Regions from separate parts of the Homo sapiens genome. Here region 2 is linked to region 1. The links are contacts of gene promoters, found by promoter capture Hi-C in human tissues and cell types (Jung and others, 2019). All regions are on one chromosome and are shown on one strand. Each heading gives the region's core, a stretch centred on a gene start or on the middle of the fragment in contact. The rest is flanking DNA. Distances are from core to core; before and after follow the strand shown. Region 1 holds the start of NUDT1 (nudix hydrolase 1). Region 2 overlaps IQCE (IQ motif containing E).

What was found. The method cuts DNA at HindIII sites, captures the fragments that hold promoters and counts their contacts. A contact is called where the count stands out against the background at its distance.
Region 2: a fragment that was not itself captured here is called in contact with the fragment with the promoter of NUDT1 in region 1 in 1 of the 25 tissues and cell types used here (stomach).

What each region holds. Positions count from the first base shown.
Region 1 is chr7:2,237,109-2,244,802 of GRCh38, forward strand. It overlaps NUDT1 (nudix hydrolase 1), which reads left to right and starts at 5,118. Exons shown (of 4, transcript NM_002452.4): 1 at 5,118-5,148; 2 at 7,455-7,618. The coding sequence starts at 7,467. It overlaps MRM2 (mitochondrial rRNA methyltransferase 2), which reads right to left and starts at 5,097. Exons shown (of 3, transcript NM_013393.3): 1 at 5,054-5,097; 2 at 2,310-2,599. The coding sequence starts at 5,061. RefSeq lists enhancers at 1-906, 192-591, 3,630-4,481 and a silencer at 4,804-5,023. The HindIII fragment of the contact is 10,120 bases long and covers 1-7,694 here.
Region 2 is chr7:2,610,333-2,618,026 of GRCh38, forward strand. It overlaps IQCE (IQ motif containing E), which reads left to right. Exons shown (of 22, transcript NM_152558.5): 22 at 1-4,396. LOC107986760 (a long non-coding RNA gene) reads right to left here. Exons shown (of 3, transcript XR_001745069.2): 2 at 7,318-7,469; 3 at 4,251-4,644. Among named protein-coding and RNA genes, the nearest start is that of TTYH3, 18 kb to the right of the region's middle. RefSeq lists enhancers at 1-314, 315-888. The HindIII fragment of the contact is 7,391 bases long and covers 75-7,465 here.

The DNA.
Region 1 (7,694 bases), core at 3,868-6,367:
GACCCCTGCCACCTCAGCTTCCCAAGGAGCTAGGACCACAGGAACATGCCACCACACCTGGCTAATTTTTTGTAGAGACGGGGGTTTCACCATATTGCCCAGGCTGGTCTCGAACTCCTGACCTCAGGTGATCCTCCCCTTGGCCTCCCAAAGTACTGGGATTACAGGTGTGAGCCACTGCGCCCGGCCTCACGCCTCACTTTATGCTCCTGAGCTTTCACTCCTATAATATCCAGTATGTTACAACCTTCGGAAATTTCCACCGAAGGCAAACAGCTTTGGCTGCATGCTTGTGACTTCCGGGAGGACAAGCCCAGGCAGATCACGCTCACGCTCTCTCCTTCTGTCACTTCCTCCTACAAGGCACGCTGGGCCACTCTCCTGCTTCATCTCAAGAGCACTTAGGGGAACAGAAACCACTGAAATCAGTTACTAGGAGGACTCCACGGTGATAAGCTCAGCAATGAGAAAAGGAACTGACATTTCCAACACAAATTCACTTATTTAGTCAATAAATGTTGAGCTGAAAAACAATAAAAAGGCTTTCAGGCTGACCACGATGGAAGCACCAGGAAGCACCTCGAGGATGCTGGGAGGCAGAGGCGGGCGGATCACCTGAGGCCTGGAGTTCGAGACCAGCCTGGCCAACATGGCAAAACCTCATCTCTACTAAACATACAAAAATTAGCCGGAAATCACTTAAACACAGGAGGCAAAGATTACAGTGAGCCGAGATGGCGCCATTGCACTCCAGCCTGGGCAACAGAGTGAGGCTCTATAAACAAAAAAAAAAAAAAAAAAAAAAAATGCTGTTGAAAAGCCCGAAGAGGCATATCCCCGCCTAAGTATGGGCAGGGGCCACCCAAGGGGATGCAGGTAGACACCAAGAGTTCATGGCAAACCTACCGCAAACCAGCAGCGAGGCAGATGTGCAGATCCAGGGGGCCAGCATTCCATTTCTGCACTTTCAACAAGTCATGAAACCCTGAGCCTGTTTTCTCACCAATAAATGGGGACCAGTGTCCCTACTCTAAGGTATTTGGGAGAGACTTGGGAGAGCTCTGGGTGGACTGTCTCACCCTGTTCAAATGCCAGTGCATGCAGCTACCCTGGCTTTACAGCAGGAAACATAAATGGCAAGGATATTCACCACAGCACACGCATCCCAGCCAAAAGCCAAAAGCAACCTTGATGCCACAGTGAGGGAGCTGGTTAAAGAACCTACGGTGCAAGCACTACATGGAATAGGATGAAACTTTCCCAATGACGACAGTGTCTTCAGTTGCATGGGCGGTTGGCTGATCTCATTATTCAGGAGAACCTTTTTATATAGAAAATCTTACTCAAAACCCTAAGATACAAAACAGATGAAAACTGTGTCTCAGCTTCATCCAGAGCAAAGAATCCATAGCCCTGGCCATGAAGCCTCTTCTAGGTTCCGGACGGAGCAGCCCCAGTGGGGCCACCAGGAAAGCCCCAGGGCTTATGCGACTTGGAAATTTAGCTGTGCTGTTGGGGAAAGATGTCAATACATCATTAAGAGTAGCCGGGCACCATGGCTCACATCTGTAATCCCAGCACTTTGGGAGGCCGAGGTGGGCAGATCACCTGAGGTCAAGAGTTCGAGATCAGCCTAGCCAACATAGTGAAACCCTATCTCTACTTAAAAAAACAAAAAGAAAAAATTAGCTGGGTGCGGTGGCGGGCGCCTGTAATCCCAGCTACTTGGGAGGCTGAGGCAGGAGAATCGCTTGAACCAGGTAGGCAGAGGTTGCAGTGAGCCGAGATCACACCATTGCACTGCAGCCTGGGCAAGAGTGAGACTCCATCTGGAGGGGGGGGAAGAACAAAAATAATAACAATAATAATTATATATATATATATATATATATATATATATATATATATATATATATATATAATACATATATGTATGTATCATTAAGCAAAAATAGCTCCAATAGGCTGCAAATTAGCAAGAAAAGTATGGCACAACATCGCTTTTGAAAATGTGAGGGATCTATGCATGCACAAGCCTGGAAGGATGCACACCACCATGCTGGTGCTGGTACCTGCGGGCGGTCTCATGCGAGGTGATTTCCATGTTCACTGCACCTTTCTACCTTGTCTTTCATTTTGAAAATGGCAGCATCCTATTTTTATCATCACCATTGCTAAACCACCCACTCGGAAGCACACGCCTTCAAAAAAGGGCTCCACCATCCCGCATCCACTGGCAAAGGCAGCTTGCCCATGCCCACTCAGCCTCAGGGGAGCCAGAAGGTGCCAACAGCAGTGCAGAGGCCCACCTGTGCCTGCGGCGTTGACCTTCTGCACCGCCACCTGACTCCAGGCCCCAGGAGCTGCCCCACAGTCTAACACCCGAAGGCCGGGCCGCAGAATCTGGTGCCTCTCGTTCACCTCCAGGAGCTTGAAGGCGCTTCGACACCGGTAACTCTCCACCTTCGCAGCCTTCACAAATGGGTCCCTGAGATGTCGGGTCAGCCACAGGTGCTCAGCGCCTGTCCGATTCTTGCAGCGACTCCCAACAGTGTGGAACCCTTGACGCTGAAAGGAAACACACACCAGCTTCAAGTACCTGGTGGGAGAGAAGAGGAGCAGGCAGGTTGGCATCACACAGAACGGCAGGTCATGAGCTGGGAGGGCCCTCGGATCAACTCATTCATTTCTAGAGATGGGGCACCAAGGCCCAGGAGGGGAGGTGAACTGATAAGGCTACACAGATGGAAAGCAGGCATCACAGGCCAAACTGTGTCCCCGCAAAATTAATGTGTTGATGTCCTAACCCTTGGTACCTCAGAATATGGGGGTATTCGGAGACACCTGTAATTCCAGCACTTTTGGAGGCCAAGACAGGTGGATCCCCTGAGGTCAGGATTTCGAGACCAGCCTGGCCAACCGTGGCCAACATGATGAAACCCCGTCTCTACTAAAATGCAAAAATTAGCCTGGCGTGGTGGCAGATGCCTATAAACCCAGCTACTCGGGAGGCTGAAGCAGGAGAATCGCCTGAACCCAGGAGGCAGAGGTTGCAGTGAGCCGAGATTGCGCCACTGCACTCCAGCCTGGGCGACAGAGCGAGACTCTGTCTCAAACAATAACTAAATACATCAATTAATTAATTAAAGTAATATTATTTTCTCATCTGGCAAAAATGTTCATTGGGCTCTGACAGGCTGCAAGAAAACCTCATAAGGACAGATCCTTGCCTTAGTGACCTAGTTCCAGGGCTTTGACAGCTAGTACAGAGGGTCTGGCCTGTCACATTTCTTTTTTTCTTCTTTTTTTCGAGACAGGGTCTCGCTCTATAGCCCAGGCTGGAGTGCAGTGGTGAGGTCACGGTTCAACGCAGATTCGAACTCCTGGGCTCAAACAATCCTCTCACCTACATGTCTTAAATAAAATTGAACTAAACCTGTGTCAATCGTTGAAGGACAATTTCCAAGATTCTCTAGACAATTGTTACAATAAATGTAACAATTTATTCACAGCCCACAATAGCTAAGCAGGTGGAAGCTATACACACCTCCCCTTGTTTAACTCTGACAACAACCTCACCAAGGAAGTTCTATGTCCTCTTTTTCTTTTTTTAAGACGGAGTCTCACTCTGGCGCCCAGGCTGGAGTGCAGTGACAGCTCACTGCAGCCTCCGACTCCCGGGTTCAAGCAATTCTCCTGCCCCAGCCTCCCAAGTAGCTGGGATTACAGGCACACCTGCTACCATGTCCGGCTAATGTTTGTATTTTCAGTATAGATGGGTTCCACCATGTTGGCCAGGCTGGTCTCAAACTCCTGACCTCCGCTGATCTGCCCGCCTTGGCCTCCCAAAGTGCTGGGATTACAGGTGTAAGCCACTGCACCCAGGCATTTCTTTCTTCTTTTTGTTTTTTTAGAGACAGGGTTTTACTATTACCCAGGCTGGAGTGCAGTGGCATGATCACAGCTGACTGCAGCCACAGCCTCTGGGGCTCAAGTGAACCTCCCACCTCAGCCTCCTGAGTAGCTGAGACTACAGGTGTGTGCCACCACTTCCGGCTAATTTTTCTATTTTCAGTAGAGATGGGATTTCACCATGTTGGCCGAGCTGGTCTCGAACTCCTGACCTCTGGCGATCAGCCCACCTTGGCCTCCCAAAGTGCTGGGATTACAGGCGTGAACCACCTCACCCGGCCATTTTTGTTTTGCTATCATCCAGGCTGGAGTTGCAGTGGCACAATCACAGCTGATTGCTGCCATAACCTCTGGGTCTCAAGTGAACCTCCCACCTCAGCCTCCTGAGTAGCTGGGACTACAGGTGTGCACCACCATGCCTGGGCTAATTTTTTTTTTTTTTTTAATTCTTAAAAACCTTTTTTAGAGATGGCATCTCACTACATTGCCTAGGCTGGTCTCGAACTCCTAGGCTCAAACGATCCTCCTGCCTCAGACTTCCAAAGTGCTGGGATGACAGGTGTGGGCCACCAAGCCCGGTCTCTATGTCCATCTTTCTGATTTAAATAAATAAATAAAAGTTACCACCCTCATGGCTCCAAGGCCAAAGCTTCTAGCTTCTGCAACACCAAAGCGTGCTGACAAGCCAGGAGGCACTGACTGCTGACCGTGAGTCGCTGTCTTCCCCTCGCTTAAGGGGTCTCCCGGGAAAATGGCACAAGCCGGTCCCGGGGGCCAGGGCCCACTCGACAGCCCAGGAAGCGCGGGCAATGGAGCTACCCGGCCCAGAAGCGAAATCCCGCCCCGGGCTCGCCCCCGGCGCCTTGGATCTGGGCCCCGGCGCTGCGCCCCCCACCTGGACTCCGCCGCCGGCCCCGGCCTCCCCACGGCCCCGCCGGCCCTGCCCCTGGAGACCTGAGGGCGCCCTCCTCCCGGGGAACTGCGACCCGGAATCCTGGCCTCGCCCCTGTCGCGCTCGCTGAGTGCGGGGACGGTGCCCAGCGCTCGGCACCCAGCCCCGAGGCCAGGACCGAGGAAGGCGACCGGGCGGACCCCCAACCACTCCCGCTGTCTGCACGCGCAGCAGCAGCGCCCAGCTCACCCCGCCATTGGTGTTCCCCGCGCCTGCAGCGCGCCGCCGGAAGTGCCTGGCCTCACTTCCGGTCAGAGGCCACGCCCCCGGAAGCGGCGGTGCAGGTACGAAAAGCGCGCGCGGGGATTCCAGGAGTCGTGGTGACCAGGGAGGGGAGCCGGGCCAGCGGGCGGCAGGAGACTAGGGGAGCTGAGCCATGGGCTTGGGGGAGAGCGGGGCCGGGAGCTCGAAGGAGACCAGAAGAGCAGGGTCGGGGGCTCGAGGGAGACGAGGAGAGCGGGGCCGGGGGTTTGGGAGAGAGACAAGGAGAGCGGGGCGGAGGCTTGGGGGAGACCAGGAGTAAATCACAAAAATTTACTTTGGAAACCGTGGCTTCTGGCAGAAACAGATCAGTGTCGGGACAAAGTACACGGGCCTGGTGTGAAACTAAGCCACAAACCCATTTACCCTGTCTGACCTGCCTCCGCCACCAGGACCCAGTCTCAGTGAAATGGGAAAGGTTCCCTTGTCCTCCTCGAAGGGCGTGCGATGAGGATGTGGCTCACTTCTTCAGTGCCCCGCTTCTCAAGCCTCTAGGGGAACATACAGACAGGCAGGCTGAGGGGCTCCCACCCCACGGCAGTGTCTAGGGGTGAATGTTTGCAGCTCCTGAAGCCCCAGCAGGCATGTGTTAGAGGGTGCTCTTTCAGTTTAGCCTTGTAGGTGGCTTGTGTTAGTCAGCTGTTAGACTCCCTGCCTTATCGCAAGGACAGAGGGCTTTCTGTATCCCTAGGTTTCTTGCCTTGATGTACTGGAGCAATCAGATCACACGGCGGCTTGGAGAGTGAGTGCAAGGTTTTATGAGTGGAATTAGCCCTCAGCAGATGGGGGAGCCAGAAGGCAGTTGGAGTGGGAAGGTGATTTTCCCCTGGAGTCGGGCTGCTGAGCAGCCTGGGCTCTCCTCTGACCGCCCCTGCCAAACTCATGGTTCCATCAGTTGATGGCCTGCTGGTGCCTGTTGGTGTGCTTTCCACGTCCTCTTGACGTCCAGCGGCTTGTGTCTCTGCCCACTATAAAAAACCACTGGGGTTTTTTTATAGGCACAGGACGGGGACGTGGCGGGCTCGGGAAATGCAACATTTGGGCAAAAAAACAGAAATGCCTGTCCTCACCCAGGTCCCTGGGCACAGGCCTGGGTGTGGAGCCCTGGCCAGAGACCACGCCCTCCTCTACCCAGCACTTCCCTGCCCCCTTCCTTATCATCTGGTCCCTTTTCTCAGACACCACAACTTCCAAGAAGGATCACTGGTCCTGAACCCTGTGTCTTGTCCAGGTGTGGACCCCAGAAAAGTTGGTCCTGGCTGGGCGCAGTGGCTCACGCCTGTAATCTCAGCACTTTGGGAGGCTGAGGTGGGTGGATCGCTTGAGCTCAGGAGTTCGTGACCAGCCTGGGCAACGTGACAAAACCCCATCTCTACTAAAAATACAGAAATTAGCTGGGTGTGGCGGCTCATGCCTGTGGTCCCAGCTATGTGGGATGCTGAGGCAGGAGGATGGCTTCAGCCAGGGAGGCGGAGGTTACAGTGAACCGCGATCACGCCACTCTCCTCCAGCCTGGGCAACAGAGCAGGATCTTGTCTCAAAATAAATAAAGGAAAGTTGGTCCTGGCCCTCCAGCATTTCTCCAGGGTCCTTTTTTCAGCAGGGACCTGGCGGAGGCATCGCCCTCAGAGTCCTCTGGACCTGGACCTGCACACCTATGGGAGCAGGAAGGACCCTTGTGACTTCCAGTGGCCCCCCTGGGTGCCAGGTCCCACAGTAGCCACAGCAGGAGCAGAGTGGGTGGGGTATAAACTCCTATCACAGGAGGGAGGACTAGCCGGGCCTGGCTGGGTGGACCTGTGTCTACAGCCACACATTTCCTGGGAATCTGGAAGCCTGCTACAGAGAGGCCAGGTCCCACTAGACTGAAAGAAGTTCCTGTTAATCCAAAGGCCTGACCTGAGGACCACAGGATAAACTGCGTGGTTATTTTGGTGCCAATCAGGCACGGGGACTGTTGTTCCTCACTGTGTGCCTATAAGCAGGGGGTTCCTGGGGGTAGACGCAGGAGCAAGAGCACGCTCTGGAAAGGTGATGTTGTCCTCTGCACCTGAGTACTGACTTGTGGAGAAGGAAGGTAGCGCCGGCCTCTGCTCTGCTTGATCAGCCCTGCTGACCACTGGGTTCTGTTTCTACCCCAGAAAATCACTGGTTCAATGGCAGTTTTCCACCTGCCACAAGGGAAGCCACACGTGGCAGGGCTGGGGAGTTACAGCATACCCCCCCGCCCCCCACTGCCTCCCAGAGCACGTCCCCTTCCTCCTGGCCCCTGGCACGTGCTTCCTCCACGCACGTCATGGCTGACTCTGCCCTCTCACCTTCCTTTCAGAACCCAGGGACCATGGGCGCCTCCAGGCTCTATACCCTGGTGCTGGTCCTGCAGCCTCAGCGAGTTCTCCTGGGCATGAAAAAGCGAGGCTTCGGGGCCGGCCGGTGGAATGGCTTTGGGGGCAAAGTGCAAGAAGGAGAGACCATCGAGGATGGGGCTAGGAGGTAAGGATGGGGCAGGTCTGGCCATAGAACCGGCTTTCCCAGGGCACAGGGATTCGGGCTGTAGGGCCACACCCTT
Region 2 (7,694 bases), core at 2,520-5,019, 370 kb after region 1:
TTTACTTTATTCTCTGGGGAGGGCCAGCGGCTCGCATCCCCCTCATCTCCAGCTGCAGCTCGGATGGTGGATTTTCAGTGCCAACAGACACATCTGCCGTGAACTCGCAGATGCCAGGGAGCCCTGTAGTGACACGTTCTCTGACAGCACCTTGCCGCCTGCCCACGACCTTGACCGTGAGGAGCTGCTATCCGCAACCAGCGCCGACACCATGCCCCCTCTTCCTGGTGACACCCTCAACAACCAGGATTTGCTCGATCTCAGCCCAGCAGGCCAGGCAGACACACCCCGCTGTGCCTTAGGAAGGTGTGAGACCGGCTTCCCCCATCCCCACAGCAAAACACGGCCTGTCCCAAGCCAGTGAGGAGCTAAAGACACCCAGGTCCCCAAATGATCTTACTCCATGCCCCACCCGCTCACACCGTCCTTTCCCGTCACCCTTGCTATCCCCTGGAGCACTGCCCTCCAGAGCTGCCCTTCCCAGGAAGGAATTTGGTTGGATTCTGTCACTGTGGAGACCAAGATTTTTTAAAATTCCCAATTACAAAAGCAGCATCACACTTGCTTCTGAGAACAGCAGGGTGATGTCTGTTCCCAAGCTGGTGGCGGGAGCCTTAGCCTGTGTGGGGCCACCCGGGGAAGAGGAGGAGAGGAGGGTGAGGAGGCAGGCTCGCCGTTCCAAGGGACAGCATAGGCTCGTGGTGGGGCGTGTTGCATCTGGTGTCTGGGACAGTCCCCGTCACCCCATGTGTGCGGCCTCTGCACTCCCAAGCTCCATGGCTGGGCTGGGCTGGGCTGGGCTGGGCTGGGCCGGGCGTGCGGAGCCTGTGGAGCCAGCAGCTGCAGAGGCCTAGGAGGGAGTTCCTGGGGGAAGCGCACAGTGTCCAGTGCCCATCTCTTGCTTGTGTGTGAGATTAGCCCTTGCTGGGGCGTCAAGAGGAAGAGCCTTAGACCTGGGCGGGCCTTCAGGGGCATCTAGACCCCTGCACAGCCCAGGCCTGGTGTCTGCATTTCCACAGCACCCCTGTGGGGACTCCTGCCGGGGCTGGCCGCTGTCTCAGGAGAGACCCAATGGTTAGAAAGCCCCTTTTTACACAGCTGACAGCTTCTCCCAAGGCTTCCGTCCACGGGGACAGGCTTAACCCCTGGGCGCCTTTTCTGCAGCATGGCGGCCTTCTGAGTCACCTAAGCTGAGCCTGGGTCATTCTCTGTGGCGGTCAGAAGGCCGATGGCCCCAACACAGTGGCTTGTGAAAGGGAGAGAGGAGGCTCTGCATGTCCACCTGCTCTATGGGAGGAGGACACAGGTGTCCCCAGCCCAGCCTGTTCTCTCCCAGTCACTCAGGGATGGGGCCACCCAAAGTGCAGGACCCGCCCCACCCTGCGGTTCGAAGCCTGGCCCCTGTCTCCACTTAGCTTCTGTTTCTGCAGTGGGTGGAAGCGAGTCAGCGGGGGGCCTGGCTTGTGTACGTGTTTTCCTTATTTGGTCTGTGGGTTGCCAAGTCCATTTTTTTTTCCACTGAACTGGCTGGTAACTTGATGGACTGTGTAACTGACACAGGCCCTCTTTAGACCCCTGCCTTCACCCCACCCGCCCGGGTCCACTCCCTGGGGCGCTGTCCCAAGCCATCCCTGCTTGCCAGCTCAAAGCTTCAGGTCCTAGGAGCCAGTCCACCTCGAAAGCCCTGAGAAAGTGAGACACCTGCACATTCGCTGGGGGAGACCCTCCGTTCTCTTGTGGCAGCTGCTCCCACTTGTTAAACCAAGCTGTTTCTGCGGGACGTGCTCACTCTTGGGAACCAGTGGCCTAGAGCTTTGGGTTACAGGCATGGAGAGGGCTTTCCTGCCTCAGGCTTGGAGGCCAATGTTCCATACATAAACCGCCATGTCCTCTGGTGCAGCTGGGCTGCTCTTTTAAAAGCCAGCATCCATCTTGAAGCTCGCTGGGTAAATGGCAATGCATTCTCAAGCCAGTGTCTTCAGCTGATGCCCAGTGTCCAGTGCTGGTCACCAGTCCCCTTTGCTGGGTACAGCCTGCCTGGCTGTTCTGTGGTCCTGGAACGCTGCAGTGTGGTTTTGTTCCATGGAGACAGTACCAAGCGGAGAGGCCTCCTTGCCCACGGCCCCAGGGCCTGGGGGCCAGGGGTTCTGGCCCTGCGGGGACTTAGGCAGGAGGGGAAGAGAAGCCCATGGAGCCATGGGAGGGGTGAGCTGTGGGCGGGGCCTAGTCATGGGAGGGGTGAGCTGTGGGCGGGGCGAGCTGTGGGTGGGGCCTAGCCATGGGAGAGGTGAGCTGTGAATGGGGCTAGCTATGGGTGGGGTGAGCTGTGGACAGGGCCTAGCCATGGGAAAGGTGAGCTGTGGGCGGGGCCTAGTCACGGGAGAGGTGAGCTGTGGGCGGGGCCTAGTCATGGGAGGGGTGAGCTGTGGATGGGGCCTAGCCATGGGAGGGGTGAGCTGTGAGTGGGGCTGAGCCATGGGAGCAGCAAGCTGGTGGAGTGGGCTGGGCGGAGCTGTGGGGGCTGCTGGCAGGGCCTAGGAAAGTAGACAACTCCCGGGGGAGACGAAGTAGAGAGTGAGTCCCCAAGAAAGGGACTCCTGCCCCAGCGTCAAGTGCCAAAGCAGGCCCCATCTACCACTTCAGGGTCGACGTTGGTGGCAGGTGTTGTTCACGGTGTACTGATTGTCACTGCAACACCTCCACATCACCTTGAACTTCAAGAACAGCAGCAAAGCTGTATCTGCTATCAGAGGCTGTTAGGTAGTCCAGCTTTAAAATAACACACTCTTTCTCTATCCCATGCCCTTTAAACAAGCAGCCACAGGAGATGTCAGTCTCCAGGGCCTGGCCCCACTGTGTTGACAGCAGTCACGTCTGTTGAGCTGACACTGCTGAGGCTGAAGCTGGCCCCGTGCAGGTGGCTGGTGAGCCACAGGTGCAGTACCCGGAGGTGTGCTCTCCCCTAGAGGCCTGTCCCCAACTCCTCCCCTAGAGGCCTATTCCCGCTGCTCACAGACCTCAGCAGAGGCACCAGCTGGAGGGCTCCAGGGACATCCTTGGAGATACAGGAGGCTTTCCTGGCACAGGGCACAGCTCTTAGGAGGCCTTTGTAGGACGCTGTCTCCCCAGCGTGTCCTGCTCATCCAGGATGGGGAGAAAGAGGAGGAGGCCCCAGGCTCAGAAGCCAGGGACAGACTGCCGACGATTACCAAACTGAATCCAGGCAGTGCCATGACCCTGGGTGTCCCTTGGTTCACATCACCCACCAGACAGCTGCGGAGAGAGTGCAGGGAGGGGCTGGGACCAAACAGGCCAGAAACCAGCAGAAAAGAGGCAGAAGTGAGGTGGGTGTGCCTGGGGCACGAAGCCAGCGCCGGGGGGATTTCAGTGGAGCCTTACAGCCAGGCTCCGTGCGGACTGTGATGCCAGAGAGGCGTGCAGCCTCTGGGCAAGTCGGGAGAGGGCTTGGGTGGTCCCCACAAGGCAGAAGAGGTGGAAGGGCCAGAGAAGACCACCAAGACCACCGTTCCCGCAGGCCTGGGGTGAGTGACCTGACTGAGACTAGCGGGCAGAGCCAAGCAGGGCTAAACTCCAACCCAGGGCCCGGTGTTGGACAAAGTAGCTTTTTCTTTGCTCGTTTGTCTGTGTATTAAGAAGAGACTAAAATAGCCAAACGACGCTGGTCGCATGCGCTGGCTGTGGTCTGTCTGCTGAATGTCTATTTTTGTCTCCTGACGAGACGTGAGGACCATGCCCTTGATCCCTCCGATGGACCAGAAACCCCCTTCCTTGCAAAAAAAAGGCAATTGAATTAGGAAAAGATAGCCCAACCTAGCTCAGATCCACCAAGATAAGCACAGCAAAGCTTGGCTGCATTTTTGAGGAATAAAAACCTGCAGAAAGCACCGATAACCTTCAAGATCTGAATGAGATTCTATTATAACCCGTCTAAACGATTGCAAAATTCCTCCTTTGGTTTTGGAAGCAGCGTTTGCTCTCCCGTGGCTCGGATTCTCTGAGGACCAGGGAGTTGACACACAAACCCCGCCATGGGTCCGAGCCAGCTATTTCTCAAGGCTCCCACCTCGCCAAGCTCCCAAGGGCCTGCTGGCAGTGCCTACGCTGTGCCAACTACCCTGTCTGGTACAGACCACGGCTGGGTAAGCACCCTTAAAAGCAACAGAAATGACGTCTGGAAGCTGAAATGTGAAACTGTCAAGATGGCTTAGGAGAGGAAGGAGTGGACCCGCTGGTCTTTGGCATTTTGTATTTAGAATTATTCTAACTTTATACATAATGTATAGGCCGATCTTTTGGAAGGGATAAGGTTTTCATTCTTGTGCAACTCATTATTCTCATTATTGGCCTTTTAAATAAAAAGTTGTTTTGCAGTGTGCCTTGAGTGCCCCGTGAAGACTTCTCTTTAATGACCTCCAGGTGTGTTCCTGCCCCACGCACTCGGGCTGAACAAACGATCCGCTTCAGAAACCCCGCTTCTCTGGGCTTCTGGCATTTTGCCGTGGTCGTAATGCAGGCTTGGGGTTGGAGAGCCAGCTGGAGGGACGGGTCCCGCCGCCAGCTCCCTGCCACGCATGAACTCGGATACATCTGTTGACACCCCGGTCCCCCGTCGAATATCTATTCCTTAGATATGAGGACACAAAAATGTGCGTGCGTGAGGGAGTTATTTCTCCATATTTGATTTCATTTTTGTTTCAGGAGCAGGGAAAGAATAATTTACTGAGGAATCAAACACAGATGGAAACGACCAAAAGGAGCTGATATCTGGGTTTTGTTTTCCAATATTTTGTTGCATAGAACAAGGAGCATCTGTGGCTTTGTGTGCTTGTGGCTGCCTGCCCTGGGGCCCTAAATCCTGAGTGGAGTTTGTCCGAAGCCTCCACAGTTACTGTGGTTGGCTCTGGCATTTGCCCAAGCCTATTTTCTCTCTATCGATCTTATATGTGTGTGTGTGTGTGTGTGTGTGTGTGTGTGAAAATATATGTATATTTTTAAATTGAGATAGGGTCTTGCTGTCTTGCCCTGGCCGGAGTGCAGTGGTGCAGTCATAGCTCACTGCAGCCTCAAACTCTTGGGCTTAAGCAATCCTCTTGCCTCAGCCTCCCAGATAGCTGGGACTATAGGTGTGCACCACTGTGCCCAACCACTTTTTAAAAAATTTCTGTCACGCCTGTAATCCCAGCACTTTGGGAGGCCAAGGCAGGCGGATCACGAGGTCAGGAGTTCAAGACCAGCCTGGCCAATATGGTGACACCCCATCTCTACTAAAAATACAAAAATTAGCCGGGCATGGTGGCGTGCGTCTGTAGTCCCAGCTACTCGGGAGGCTGAGGCAGAATTGCTTGAACCTGGGAGGTGGAGGTTGTAGTGAGCCGAGATGGCGCCATTACACTCCAGCCTGGGCGACAGAGCGAGACTCTGTCTCAAAAAAATAAAAATAAAAATTCTGTAGAGATGAGGACTTGCTAAGTTGCCCAGGCTAGTCGAACTACTAGGCCCAAGTGATCCTCCCACCTCAGCCTCCCAAGTGGCTGAAACTACAGGTACGCACCTGGCTAATATACAAAATTTGAGGGGTGGGGCACAGTGGTTCGTGCCCGTAATCCCAGCACTTTAGGAGGCTGAGGCAGTGAATCACCTGAGGTCAGGAGTTCGAGGCCAGCCTGGCCAACATGGTGAAACCCCGTCTCTACTAAAAATACAAAAAGTAGCCGGGCGTGATGGCACATGCCAGTAATCCCAGCTACTCAGGAGGCTGAGGCAGGAGAATCACTTGAACCCGGGAGGTGGAGGTTGCAGCGAGCCATTGCACTCCAGCCTGGGCAAGAAGAGCAAAACTCCGTCTAAATAAATAAATAAAATTTTATTTTGGTGGAGGTTGCAGTGAGCCATTGCACTCCAGCCTGGGCAAGAAGAGCAAAACTCCATCTCAATAAATAAATAAATAAATAAATAAAATATATTTTTCTGGTAGAGATGGGGCCTTGCTATGTTGCCCAGGCTGGTGTCCAATGCCTCGCCTCAAGCGATCCTCCCACCTTGGCCTCCCAAAGTGTTGGAATTACAGGTGCGAGCCACCGTGGCCTGCCCCGAGCCCATCTTTACACTCCGATGGCCTGTGTGCTGTCCTGGCAAGCGGTTCATTTGCAGACTTGCACTTTGCAGACGAGCTGGTAGGGCCTGAGGGAGCCTGTGGCATTGGAGAGCATGGTGCACCAGGCACTCGCCCGCTGCAAGCTCGCTGCCCCCGCAGTCGCCAGCTGTGATCTCCCCTAGGGGTTCAGACCCAGGAGCAGAGAGGAGGCAGCCTGTGGGGGCTTCTCAGCTAGAACTGGCGAGAGGAGGAGAGAGAAGGTCCAACCTCAGGCCTCCACCCACCGTGGGCCGGGGTATGGATAGACATGGAAGTATGTGAGCGTGGACATCCATGCGCACGCGCACAGGCACACGGGGAGAACCCTCTTCCTCTTCCCCATCCAGCCCTCTGGTTTTTGGTGCTCCCAGACGTGCGCTGAGTGCATGAGGGCCTCCTCAAAGACCGAGTGAGGGTCACCACAAGCTCTTGCCAAGACAGTTTTAAATATGAGATTCCTCCAAGGTCCCTGGGGGACATAGGAAAAAAAAGAAGTAAGCCTCTGAGTCCCTCGCTCCTTTCAGCACTGCTGTCGGGCTTGGAATATGAATGACGGGCTGCAGAACAGGGTGGCGTGTCTCTGCGTGGGTGCCAGCTAATGGCCTTTGGCCAGCACCTCCCCACTGGATCCCGGGAGCAGGGCCCAGTGTCAGCCCCGAGGGCCAGCCCCATTAGATGGGGCCTGCCTCAGGAACCTGGGGACGTTACCATGGTGCTGTGTCCCTTTCTGAATAAGAGGAGAGGGTGCCCCTGAGCTATTCGTTAATTAAGTCCCAGAGCAGCCTGGGATTCAAAGGACAGAGTCCAGCGCTGCCAGGGCTCCCACGGCTGCCATTCATGGCAGCCCTGTCTGGGGGCTTCCTCCCCACCAGCCCTTCCCTTCCCAGGCCCGGCTCGCAAAGGAATGAAAGCAGGGAAGGGTGTGAGTGGGTGGGCTGGGGCGAAGCTCGCATAAAATATACAAAGGGAGCTGGTTCCCGCTCATTGCAGCCTCGCCCCGCCCCATTCCCTTCTCTCACCCACTTCCCCCTCCAGCACCCTGTGGGCTGCTGGCTCCACTATGCTCACCGCTCCTGCTACCCTCGCCCGAGAGTGCACCCTTCCCGCCTCATCACTCCTCCCTGCTTTCGGGATTTCTCTTCTGCTCTGGCACCCGGTCCTACCCTCTGCCTGTTGAGTATGGGTGTATCCACGGCTCCGTCCCCAACACCCCAGCCTGCCTGGATCGTCCACTGGGCGTCCGCACGTTCTTGTCTCAGATGCCTCCAATTCAGCTTGGCTCGGCTTCAATTTATCTTCCCTCATGACCTGCTCCCTGTTCAGTAAACCACATCACAAGCCACATGGTTGTCCCTGCCAGAAACCTAGAGATCATCCCCGTCTCCCTGCCCGTTCTCACCAGGCCCCACAGGGGCTACCCCCTCAGCAGCCCTCAACTCTGCTGCCACATCTGCAGTGAGGCCAAGTGACCCCACCAGACAGTTCCCACGGGCTCCAAGACAAAATTGAACTCCTGAACATGCCAGACTGCTGCATGTCC